2 separate regions of the Homo sapiens genome follow, and region 1 is linked to region 2. Evidence: promoter capture Hi-C in 16 types of primary human blood cells and fetal thymus (Javierre and others, 2016). All regions are on one chromosome and are shown on one strand. The core of a region is centred on a gene start or on the middle of the fragment in contact, and the rest is flanking DNA. Distances in the headings are between cores, read along the strand shown. Region 1 overlaps LOC124909441 (a long non-coding RNA gene). Region 2 holds the start of SLC25A36 (solute carrier family 25 member 36).

Region 1 (6,329 bases), core at 3,191-5,690, 370 kb after region 2:
TGTTCAGCCGTAGCTCCTGCTCACGCTGCATTGCCCTCTTTTTAAAGCCAAGAAGCCCATCTGGAGGCATCAAATCATGCTTTATGCATAAGTAGGAGCTACAACGCATTGGCCACATGCACCTCCCTTGGGGGGACTCAAATTTACTGAATCCTGCCTTTGTGCCCAACACTGCATTTGGAACCTTATATAAACATCTCCACTATTCCCCAAGAGGGTTCATCCTTTCCCCTTGTTTCTTCATTATCTATGTCTAACTTCCATCCTTCCTGCTTTAGTTGGACTTGCTGTTCATTTGAGAGGAAGCTGCTGACCACAGAGTTCAGCAAAAGAATGGGAGTATGGAGGCTCAAAGTGTGGCCCCTGGAGAAGCTGAATGAGAAGTAGCCCTGGATATGGTGTAGACTCCCACAAACCAGAGATCCTGCCCTCAGTGCCTCAGCTTTAGGAAGCTGCTCCCTGCCTTGCTCCTGGGCAGACAGGTATGGTATTGATTTCCCCATACCCCAGCATCCCCACCCCAGTTTCCCTCTCTTCCCCCATTGCCCGGTGCTTTGGCTGGCATGCCCCTGACAACCAGGGAGGGCAAGTCCTTCTCCTGGTGGGTAGCCGGCTGGCTTCCTCCCAGCTCAGAGCCAAGCATGCCTCAATTAGGTACGCCCTAGGATGGGAAGTCCTTCCAGGGGCCTTTCCTCAAAAGCCGGCCAGAAGTGGGCTCCTTCAAGCCTAAAGTTAAGCCGATGGAGTATGCAGGGTGGAGACGTGAAGGAAGGCCACACCACCTTCTGGTGGCAACTCCGCCTGGCCCACGTTTTGCCGCTTTTCCTCTTTCCCTGTCAACCACACCACGTGAGGCCTCTTTCCCAGCAAACCAAAGCTCCCTCTGGCGGCCCAGGAGGAGTCAAATCTTCTCCCCACCTGTGTACATTATTTTCCAGCTGTAGCAAGTAGAGACACGCTCTGTGTCCAGATGGCCTCACCCCAGCTGCCCTTTTGTCCCACTGATGAGCCAGGTGTTTAGCATTTTAAACAACTAGCACTCTGATTGACAGACTGACCATTAAATTGACTTTCTGACTGATGGATCCTGATGGACCACTGTCTATCTGAAAAGTTAATCCTGAGTAATTGACTGGCTGGTTGGCTGATTAAATATCTAAACACACAAATCACTTGATTGACCTAATGGATTTCTTTTTTTGTTGCTTTTTGGTTTTTTGTTTTTGAGGCGGAGTCTCGCACTGTTGCCCAGGCTGGAGTGCAGTGGCGTGATCTCCGCTCACTGCAAGCTCTGCCCCCCGGGTTCATGCCATTCTCCTGCCTCGGCCTCCTAAGTAGCTGGGACTACAGGCGCCCGCCACCATATATATATATATATATATATATATACATATAGTATTTTTAGTAGAGACGGGGTTTCACTGTGTTAGCCAGGCTTGTCTCAATCTCCTGACCTCGTGATCTGCCCGCCTCGGCCTCCCAAAGTGCTGGGATTACAGGCATGAGCCACCACACCTGGCCACCTACTGGATTTCTTACTGATGTACTAACTGTAGGTAACTAAACATCTGACAAGCTTAAACTGACTACATAACTGACTCTTTAACCAGCTGAATGACTGACTGCCCAGTGGAGGACCAACAATAACTGATGTCTGGCTCCATAACTAAGGGTTACAGATGGATGGGAGAAGAGGCTGCCCCTTCCTCACACTCCAACTCCTATGGGGATTGAGACCCTATTCTTCTCCCCCTCTTGAGCCACTTGAAGACTGCAGAAAGGGTGTTATGGTCAGAATATTGGTGATCTCCCCAAATTCATATATTGGAACCTAATACCCAATGTGATAGTATTAAGAGATGGGACCTTTGGGGAAGTGATTAATTCATGAAGGCTCTGCCTCAGGAATGGGCTTAGTGGCCTTATAAAAGGAGTTGGAATTGAAGGGAGCTAACTTGGCCCTTTGGCCCTTCCACCATGTGAGGACACAGCTACAAGGCACCATCTTTTTTTTTTTTTTTGAGACAGTCTCGCTCTGTCGCCCAGGCTGGAGTGCAGTGGCTTGATCTCGGCTCACTATAAGCTCTGCCTCCCGGGTTCATGCCATTCTTCTGCCTCAGCCTCCCAAGTAGCTGGGACCACAGGCACCTGCCACCATGCCCGGCCAATTTTTTTTTTTATTTTTAGTAGAGACAGGGTTTCACCGTGCTAGCCAGGATGGTCTCGATCTCCTGACCTCGTGATCCGTCTGCCTTGGCCTCCCAAAGTGCTGGGATTACAGGCGTGAGCCACCGCGCCCAGCCCCAAGCATCATCTTTGAAGCAGAGAGTAAGCCTTCACCAGTCCAGTCCTTGATCTTGGACTTCCTTGCCTCCAAAACTGTAAACAATATATTTCTGTTACTTATAAATTACCTAGTCTAAGGTATTTTGTTAGAGCAGCCTGAATGAGCTAAGACAGAGGGCAATCAGGAAACTGATGTTCTGATCTTCTGGTGAGGTTCTTAACCAGGGCCCGACATATGGGTTTCAATTTTGCTTTCAAAACAGTGTGGATGTAAAGATGTGTGTTTATCCAGGAAGAGGGTTCACAACTTTCTTTGGATTCTCAACAGAATTCAGCACACACGAAATATTATGTTCAGAGCTACTGCTCTGGGAATAAGAACCTCAGCAAACACATTTCAGATAAGCAAAGCCCTTGTCTGAATTCAAGCCCATTTCTATCTCCCTCCCATCAAGCCAGAGTGGCAGAAGATGACTAGGAAGAGTCAGAGGACCTTAGAGGAGGTGGATGTAGCCAAGAGAAAGGATAAAGGCTGAGCTGTTTGAAGTTTCCAGAGAGGACTGAGGAAGTCAACCTGGGTCCTTCTTGTGTGGAGGTCACACTTCGCCCAAGATAGCAGAGGCCGTTTAAACTGAGATGGATATATTTACCCTTTGTTTGATGCCAGGAGTATGTGATCATGAATTGTTATGTGGCTGTGTGTACTACATACCGGTGTGTTCACAAGGGTAGGTATAACTGAGCTGTGTGCATAAGTGAACGAGTGGCCTTTGGGTTTAGTGTGAGCATCTGAATGGTTTGGTGAAGGGATGTGCACGTGCATCTTTAACCATTTACCCATCAAGCCTCTCATTAAGTTAAGACAGGTTACGGAAAAGAATTCCACTAGGTGAGAGTATCTGCAGACAGGCCTACAGCCCACACCAGAAAACTGGGAATCCTCAACTCGCCCCACTCCCTGATCCCTCATCATCCACTGAATCCATGCTGCCACTCCCACCATCAGCCCCCATCAACTCTCCCTGGGCTGCTGCTCAGCCTTCAATGGCCTCCCCCAAAACCCTTCTGAATGAACTGCAGCAATAGTGATGACGGTAAAATGACTTTTGGGTCACAGCGCGTCTCCCCTGAAGCGAACAACGGCTTTCCATTGTCGGAGGATACTGCCCATCTCCTCAGTCTGACTCGAGGGCTCTTTCAAGGTCGACTCTGGGGTAGTGAGGTCCCCGGCTTTGGGCGCGTCTCCCCTCAGTCGGCTCGTATCCCACACCCCTTCCCCCTTGGATGCCTCGTTCTCTGGGGCCCTTTGGCGCTGCCCCTGCGTCCCCATCATGGAAACTACCACCTGCTGCCTAACTGCCAGACGCAAAAGTGCCCAAGCCTGTCTCTCACGTTCCACCCCATAAACCTTCCCCACCCGACCAGAAGCCAGAGAGACCACAGGTCGAAGCAGGACCACGCAAGGACGCGCACGCCTCTTTCCCACGCCGCAGAGCGATAGAACCCGCAACAGGAAAACGGAAAGGCCGTGCGCCGGAAGAACAGGTAGGGACTACGACTCCCAGAAGCCTCTTGACAAGGACTACATTTCCCAGAAAGCTCCGCGCGGTTCCCACCCCGGAACTGCCTCTGCTTTCGAAAGCGGAAGGCGGGCCAACCGGGCAGGGAACAGGGTTTCTGAAGGGATAGACCGGTGGGCGGTGTCGCCGGGTGTCTACCTCCAGGGGTCGTTCGTGAGCCAGAGAAACCCGGACTTAGGAAGGAAGGGGCCTGGCCACAGCCCTTCCGCTGTTGGCTGTGCATTGCCCTTATTCCCAGCTCATTCTCTGTCGTTGAGTCGAGCAAGGAGGGTCAGACAGAACCAGGTCCACCACGTTTGTGTCTTTCCGCCAGGTGAGACTTTTACTGATGCTATTCCAGTCATAAAAGCCAGGAGCTACATGGAGTTCCCAAGGAGGCAATTCCCCTAACACTACCCGCTCACTCGCTCACTCCGTAGTCAGAGCCATAGGCACACAGGCTTCAGCCACTACACCAAGTCAGTATTGCAAAGCATACAAAATAGTCTACTTAGTCAACATGTTAAATGTTGTAGATTAAATATTCCACATCAAGCAGGGTAACATTTAACATCAAGAGCAAAGGAGATAGATAGGAAAAGGGGTTAACAAACTAGTCCCAGGAGAGACAAGGTGTCCTGGCCTCAATGTCTTGCAAGGAAGAGTCTTTGATGTGGGCAAAGCCTTAGGCAGCAGATGCCGGGTGTTTATCATGGGCGACAGCAAGATAGGGTCTGTTAAGACGGCCATTTAGAGCTAGAGAAGTCCTGCTCTTTTTATGGCCACGGGGGTCTTCTGGTGACGACTGATAGTGAAGGAGTGTGCCTGTTTATGCCCGTATTTGGTTGGATACACTCTTTTTTGGTTAGGCGAACATCGGGACTCTGTTGGCATGATGCCTTTTGAAACGTAAAGTGGAGTCTTTTGCTAAGATGGAGTTACTTATGTCAAGGGTGTTCTATACACTCCCTCTGCCTGCTCTGGCTTTGCCTGTGGCCAGTACTTGCTCTCTGCCCACCTCTTGGTGTCTCTAGGGGGTAGAGGCTGGTGGCTAGATGGTCTGTCCCTCGCCCTTATCTCCAGTCCTGCATTGCTTATCTGCCGCTTGGAGGCGGTGACCATCTTGACTCTAAGAGCCAAACCCACAGAGCCCTACATGTGAGTTCCACAGCTCTTCTACTTCTGGCTGTGGCTGTCGGAGGAGGGGCTTCAGGCGGTGGAGACAGGCGTGGACAGTAGCTGGGGGGTGGCGGGGAGATCTGTGGCTCCTGATCTGCCACCTCTGTTCCCAAGAAGATAATTTTCCTGTGGCCTGGGCTCATCCAGCTTATCTTCTCAAATGCCTGAGTTCTGTAGGTGGCCGGCCTTCTTCCTCACTTCCTCCACTCCCAGCCTTATCCCTCAGACCCTAGCAATGGGCCCCATGGCATATTTTCACCTTTCCCCTTTAGAGCCACTTAGAGGACCTGTCGAGAAATAGACGTAACTGGATGAACTAAAACAAGGATGAGGCAGAAACAACTTTCCATAAGACATGTCCACCAGTGTGCCATGTCAGTTTACCGTAACCATGGCTACACCCGGGAGTTCCCGCCTCTTTCCATGGCAATGACCCGATGACGCAGAAGTTACTCCCCTTTTCCTAGAAAATTCTGCATAAACCAACACTTAATCTGCATGCAATTAAAAATAGGTATAAATATGACCATAGAACTGCCCTGAGCAGCTACTCTCTGCCTATGGGGTAGTCCTGCTCTGCAGGATCAGTCATGGAGCTGTAACACTGCCACTTCAATCAAGCTGTTTTCGGCTACCCTGCCACCAGCTAGCCCTTGAATTCTTTACTGGGCAAAGCCAAGGAAAAAGCCACATTTTGTGGCTCTCCTGTCCTGCATCACAACCGCTCCTAGGGAGCTACAACCACTGGTAACTGAGTGTCTTCTGACAGACAGTTTCATGAAGTACAGGCTTCCCAGAGGTGCCTGTCCCTTCTCCCATGTTGCTCCATGTTACCACATTTCCTACCTGGGTAGACCTTTGGAGATCCCTGAGATCCTTTTAGGGAATCTGCAAGGTCAAAACTGTTTTCACAATAATACTAAGTTTTATTTGCATTTTTCACTGTAGTGACATTTACGTTTAAAATCATAGGTAAAACTGCTGGAACCTTGGTGTGATTCAAGGCAGTGGCACCAAACTATATTGGCAGTTACTGTATTTTTCACCAGTATACTTGTAGGGGAAGGGGATGGGAAAGCCAGTTCCACTTAATGTCCTTAATGAAGCTGTAAAGAGTATTCATTTTACTCCATTTTGAGCCTTGATTACATGACGTTTAAATATTTTGTGTGACAAATGGGAAGTGCGCATAAAGCAAGTCTGCTGCACACCAAGGTATTATGTCCTGAGGAAAAGCAGTTCTGTGCTTGAGTTCGTAGCTGAACTAGACCTTTTTTTCTGGAAAACACCTCTTTTATTTTCATT
Region 2 (5,735 bases), core at 3,127-5,626:
TCAACACTCCTATTCAACATAGTATTAGACGCTCTGGCCAGGGCAATCAGGCAAGAGAAAGAAATAAAGGGTATTCAAATAGGAAGATAGGGAGTCAAATTACCTCTGTTTGCAGATGACATGATTGAATATTTAGAAAACCCCATCATCTCAGCCCAAAAACTCCTTAAGCTGATAAGCAACTTCAGCAAAGTCTCAGGATACAAAATCAATGTGCAAAAATCACAAGCATTCCTGTACACCAATAATAGACAAACAGAGAGCCAAATCATGGGCAAATTCCAATTCACAATTGCTACAAAGAGAATCAAATACCTAGGAATATAACTTACAAGGGATGTGAAGGACCTCTTCAAGGAGAACTACAAACCACTGCTCAAGGAAATAAGAGAGAACACAAACAAAGGGAAAAACATTCCATGCTCATGGATAGAAAGAATCAATATCGTGAAAATGGCCATACTGCCCAAGGTAATTAATAGATTCAATGCTATTCCCATCAAGCTACCATGGACTTTCTTCACAGAATTAGAAAAAACTTCTTTAAATTTCATATGCAACCAAAAAAGAGCCCATATAGCCAAGACAATCCTAAGAAAAAAGAACAAAGCTGGAGGCATCATGCTACCTGACTTCAAACTATACTACAAGGCTACAGTAACCAAAACAGCATGGTACTGGTACCAAAACAGATATATAGACCACTGGAACAGAACAGAGGCCTCAGAAATAACACCACACATCTACAACCATCTGATCTTTGACAAACCTGAGAAAAACAAGCAATGGGCAAAGGAGTCCCTATTTAATAAACTGCTAGCCATATGCAGAAAACTGGAACTGGACTCCTTCCTTACACCTTATACAAAAATTAACTCAAGATGGATTAAAGATTTAAATACAAGACCTAAAATCATAAAAACCCTAGAAGAAAACCTAGGCAATATCATTCAGGCATAGGCATGGGCAAAGACTTCATGAATAAAACACCAAAAGCAATGGCAACAAAAGCCAAAATTGACAAATGGGATCTCATTAAACTAAACAGCTTCTGCACAGCAGAAGAAACTATCCAGAGTGAACAGGCAACCTACAGAATGGGAGAAAATTTTTGCAATCTATCCATCTGACAAAGGGCTAATATCCAGAATCTCCAAGGAACTTAAACAAATTTATAAAAAAAAAAAAAAAAAAACCAGCTGGGCACAGTGGCTCATGCCTGTAATCCCAGTACTTTGGGAGGCTGAGGCGGGTGGATTGCCTGAGGTCAGGAGTTCAAGACCAGCCTGGCCAACACAGTGAAACCCCGTCTCTATTAAAAATACCAAAAAAAAAAAAAAATTAGCTGCGCATGGTGGCAGGCACCTCTAATCCCAGTTACTACGGAGGCTGAGGCAGGAGAACCACTTGAACCCAGGAGGTGGAGGTTGCAGTGAGCTGAGATTGCACCATTGCACTCCAGCCTGGGTAACAAGAGCAAGACTCTGTTTCAAAAAAAACAAGCAAAAACAAAAACAAAACAACAACAAAAACAATCCCATCAAAAAATGAATGAAGGATATGAACAGACACTTCTCAAAACAAGACGTTTATGTGGCCAACAAACATATGAAAAAAAGCTCATCACCACTAGTCATTAGAGAAATGCAAATGCAAACCACAATGAGATACCATCTCACGCCAGTTAGAATGGCGATCATTGAAAAGTCAGGAAACAACAGACGCTGGAGAGAAGGTGGGGAAATAGGAATGCTTTCACACTGGGTAACAGTGTGGGAGTGTAAATAAGTTCAACGATTGTGGAAGATGGTGTGGCGATTCCTCAAGGATCTAGAAATACCATTTGACCCAGCAATCCTATTACTGGGTATATACCCAGAGGTCTATAAATCATTCTACTATAAAGACACATGCACACGTATGTTTCTGGCAGCACTATTCACAATAGCAAAGACTTGGAACCAACCCAAATGCCCATCAATGTTAGACTGGATAAAGAAAATGTGGCACATACACACCATGGAATACTATGCGGCCATAAAAAAGATGAGATCATGTCCTTTGGAGGGACATGGATGACGCTGCAAACCATCATTCTCAGCAAACTAACACAAGAACAGAAAACCAAACACCCCATGTTCTCACTCATAAGTGGGAGTTGAAAAATGAGAACATATGGGTACAGGGAGGGGAACATCCACTCTGGGGCCTGTCGGGGGTTGGGGGGCAAGGGGATGGATAGCATTAGGAGAAATACCTAATGTAGACAACGAGTTAATGGGTGCAGCAAACTACCATGGCACATGTATACCTACATAACAAACCTCCACATTCTCCACATGTATCCCAGAACTTAAAGTATATTAAAAAAAAAAAAAAAAAAGGAACTGGTAACAAAGAAAATCTCAGAAAGTTTCTTACTCTTTTCAGTTAAGAGAAGGATGGAATATATGTAAATTTAAATTTATATAAACATTTTTCCTAACTAAAAAAAAAACTATGTATGAATTTCAAACTTTTTTGCACCAAAAATTCGTACTCACTTGTTATAATGTATCTGAACAAGATCTAGTTTGAGGCACTAAAAAGGATAAGACATCAGCTTGAAAACAGCCCCTATCAGAGCAGCATGAATTGAAGCAAGAAAAAACATCAAATTTATGGTCAAGATTGGGTGGAAGAATGGTGAAATCAAGGATGCTTTACAAAAGTTTGATGGGGAAAATTCCCCCAAAGAAATCTGAAGTTTACAAATGGATAACTTGTTTGCAGAAGGGATGAGACAATGTTGAAGAGGAAGCCTGCAGTGGCAGACAATCCACATCGATTTTTGAGGAAAAGATTATTCTTCGGTGTGCCCTAATTGAAGAGGACCCACAATTAACAGCACAAATAATATACAACACCATAGACATTTCAACTGGTTCTACTTACACATTTCTCACTGAAAAACTGAAGTTGAGCAAACTTTTCACCCGATGGGTGCAAAACTGTTGCACCCAGATGAGCTGCAGACAAGAGCAGGGCTTTCAATGGAAATTGTAAACAAGTGGGATCATATATTGAAACATTTCTTTGAAGAATTGTAACAGGAGATCAAACATAGCTTTCTCAGTATGATTCTGGATCAAAGCAATAGTTACCAAGAGGTGCAAGTGGTCCAGTCAAATCAAAAGTAGACTGGTCAAGAGCCGAAGTCATAGCAGCAGCTTTTTGGGATGCTCAAGGTATTTTGCCTGTTGACTTTCTGGAGGGTGGAAGAGCAATAACATCCGCTTACTATAGGAGAAAGTGAAGCAAAGCTTTAGCATAAAAACACCTACGAAATCTTCACCAGAGAGTCCTTCTCCATCAGGACAATGTTCCTGCTCATTCCTCTCTTTAAATAAGGGCATTTTTCCAGGGATTTCGATGGGAAACTATCAGGTATCCATCTTACATTCCTGACCTGGCTCCTTCTGACATATTTTTGTTTTCTAATCGTGAAAAATCTGTAAATGGCACCCATTTTTCTTCAGTTAATAACGTAAAAAAGCCTGCATTTTCATGATTAAATTCCCAGAACCCTCAATTCTTTACAGATGGACTAAAGAGCCGGTATCATCACTTACCAAACTGTCTTTAACTTGATGGAGCTTACGTTGAAAAACAAAGTTTATATTTTTAAATTTTATCTTTTAATTCCATTTCCCATGAACTTTTATTCTTTTAAAAACAAACCCAAGTATTTTAATTCTACTTGCCTTTTTTACTTATTACACACTTCGGGAGATTTTTTGCCATATGGAATCACCTCATCCCTTGTCACGATTGCATAATATTCCATAGTAGGAATGTTTCATGATTTATTTCTTCATTCCCCCACTGATTTCAATTTTCTGCAACTGCAAGCATTGTTCATAATTCTGTACTGTTTGTGAGCCTATATAGGAGTATCCGTGCACAAACCTTTTTATGCATTGTGCGAGGGTTACTCTGAGATAGACACCAAGGGAACTGCTGGGTCATAAATCCAATTTTTTCAAAGTAAATCCGCTTGCGAACCCGGAACCAAGTCGATTTTTCCCGCCCCGCCAGTTCCCTGTTCAGGAGAGTGCAGCCGTGATTGGCGCGTTCACTCAGGCCAGGGGCGCCCCAGGTCTCAGGTGCTAGGAGCGCGGTGACCTACCACCCTCCGGGCACGCGTTCTGGCCACGCCTCGCGGCCCCTTTCATTGAAAGAGCCCGTAGGGATCACGTGAAAGAACACTGCAGAGTGCGTGACGTCACGACGCTCACACCAATGGGAGCCTCTGTTTATGTCGGGAGCCATCAAATAGTCATCTTCCCCCTACCATCCCCCGCCCACTCTCCGTCGCGCTGCGCTGCGTCGCTTTCAGCCTCTGGTGAAGGGCGGCGCGCTTAGGCAGGCGGTGGCGCGGCTGGAGTGCCGCGGGGAGGGCTGTGCCGGTTGCTTTCTGCAGCCGCATCTCGGCCAGCTCTCCTCGCCGTCCCCGGGGCGCTGTGCGTCTCCAGTCCGGGACCGAAGCCGCCTGCCGTAGCGGGCGGCCAGATCCGCGTCCCGCCTCAGCGGCCGGAGGACATGCGGGAGAGAGAATGAGCCAGAGGGACACGCTGGTGCATCTGTTTGCCGGAGGGTAAGGTCCTGGCGGGGCGTGCGCACTGGGGCTGAGGGTGCTGGGGCCGAAGACGCAGGCGAGGGGGGCGAGGGGGGCCGAGGGGGGTGGGGGGGTGGGGGGGCGGGAGTGAGGCCTGGGCGGGGAGCTGCCACGGGCCTGCGGGTGAGGGGAGCGACCCAGCCCGTGGGTGGTGAGGGGGGCTCCGGTTCGGGGAAGCAAGGGGGTGAGGCCCGGGCCCGAGGGCGAGAGAGTGAGGCCCGGGCAAAGAGGGTTGAGGCATGAAACCCGGGCCGGGAGTGAGGTTTTGGGCCCGCGGGGCCGGGGTGAGGCGGAGGCCGAATCCATGCGTCTGAGGAGACGCGGGCAAGAGCTGGGGTCGGCGCTTGATTACCCGGACGCCGCTGGACCTGGCCGCACGCCGCAATCTAGCAGGCGTCGGGGATCCAGGGCCGCTTTGAGGAGCCTGGCTTCGGATTTCGCGTAGGTTGCATGGCCCAAGGGGACGGGGCGGAAAGTGCGGAGGCTGAGGACAAAATGGGCGCCGGAGACTCCTTTAGCCCTCGCTCCTTGCAGCGCTCGCTTGGGCCTCTGCACGTCACTCACGCCCCACCTCGGACCTCGGGCCGCTCATTTCCGGGCTCGGCTTTGCAAGGTGGGTGGTAAGGGGGCTACGGGATCGAGCGGGGAAGGCTTTGGTATTCTCCCGTGGTTGCTGTAGGGTGTTTCTAGCCCTTGGAAAATTTCTTGCCCGAGGTTTTCCAGGTGGTGAATGGGGTGCAAAGCTTTCCAGTACCTTTGGGGTCAGATTCCTTTCGAGAAAACCACCCCTCTTGAACACCGCTTGCTTTTCTGCTGCTTAGGAGAAAGTAGGAGTGGAGAGAGGTCAGATTTTTTGAAGATAGTGTTAATAGTTACTATGTGTGTGCAAGATTAGGACTAAGCCTAAAGTCTTAGTTCCCTGATTGCCAAAATGAGTGTTAGAGCTTCCAGTTTAGCCTCCTGTTTAGATTTGCTCCTTCTAAATCATTTGGAGAATCATAGCAATTTTAAGAGTTACTTATTTGGAGGATTATAAAGAGTTTTCTTATCAAAAATGCCTTCGGTGAATTATGCTGAG

Evidence for each region. The method cuts DNA at HindIII sites, captures the fragments that hold promoters and counts their contacts. A CHiCAGO score of 5 or more calls a contact.
Region 1: a fragment that was not itself captured here is called in contact with the fragment with the promoter of SLC25A36 in region 2 in 1 of 17 cell types (fetal thymus); the score reaches 5.4 in fetal thymus.

What each region holds. Positions count from the first base shown.
Region 1 is chr3:141,307,926-141,314,254 of GRCh38, forward strand. It overlaps LOC124909441 (a long non-coding RNA gene), which reads left to right. Exons shown (of 4, transcript XR_007096119.1): 2 at 1-482; 3 at 3,712-3,831. It also overlaps the pseudogene PHF5AP7. Among named protein-coding and RNA genes, the nearest start is that of ZBTB38, 57 kb to the right of the region's middle. RefSeq lists an enhancer at 3,715-3,904. The HindIII fragment of the contact is 5,733 bases long and covers 1,575-6,329 here.
Region 2 is chr3:140,937,460-140,943,194 of GRCh38, forward strand. SLC25A36 (solute carrier family 25 member 36) reads left to right here and starts at 4,377. Exons shown (of 7, transcript NM_001104647.3): 1 at 4,377-4,636. The coding sequence starts at 4,596. RefSeq lists enhancers at 4,351-4,720, 4,814-5,661, 5,301-5,530. The HindIII fragment of the contact is 2,098 bases long and covers 3,301-5,398 here.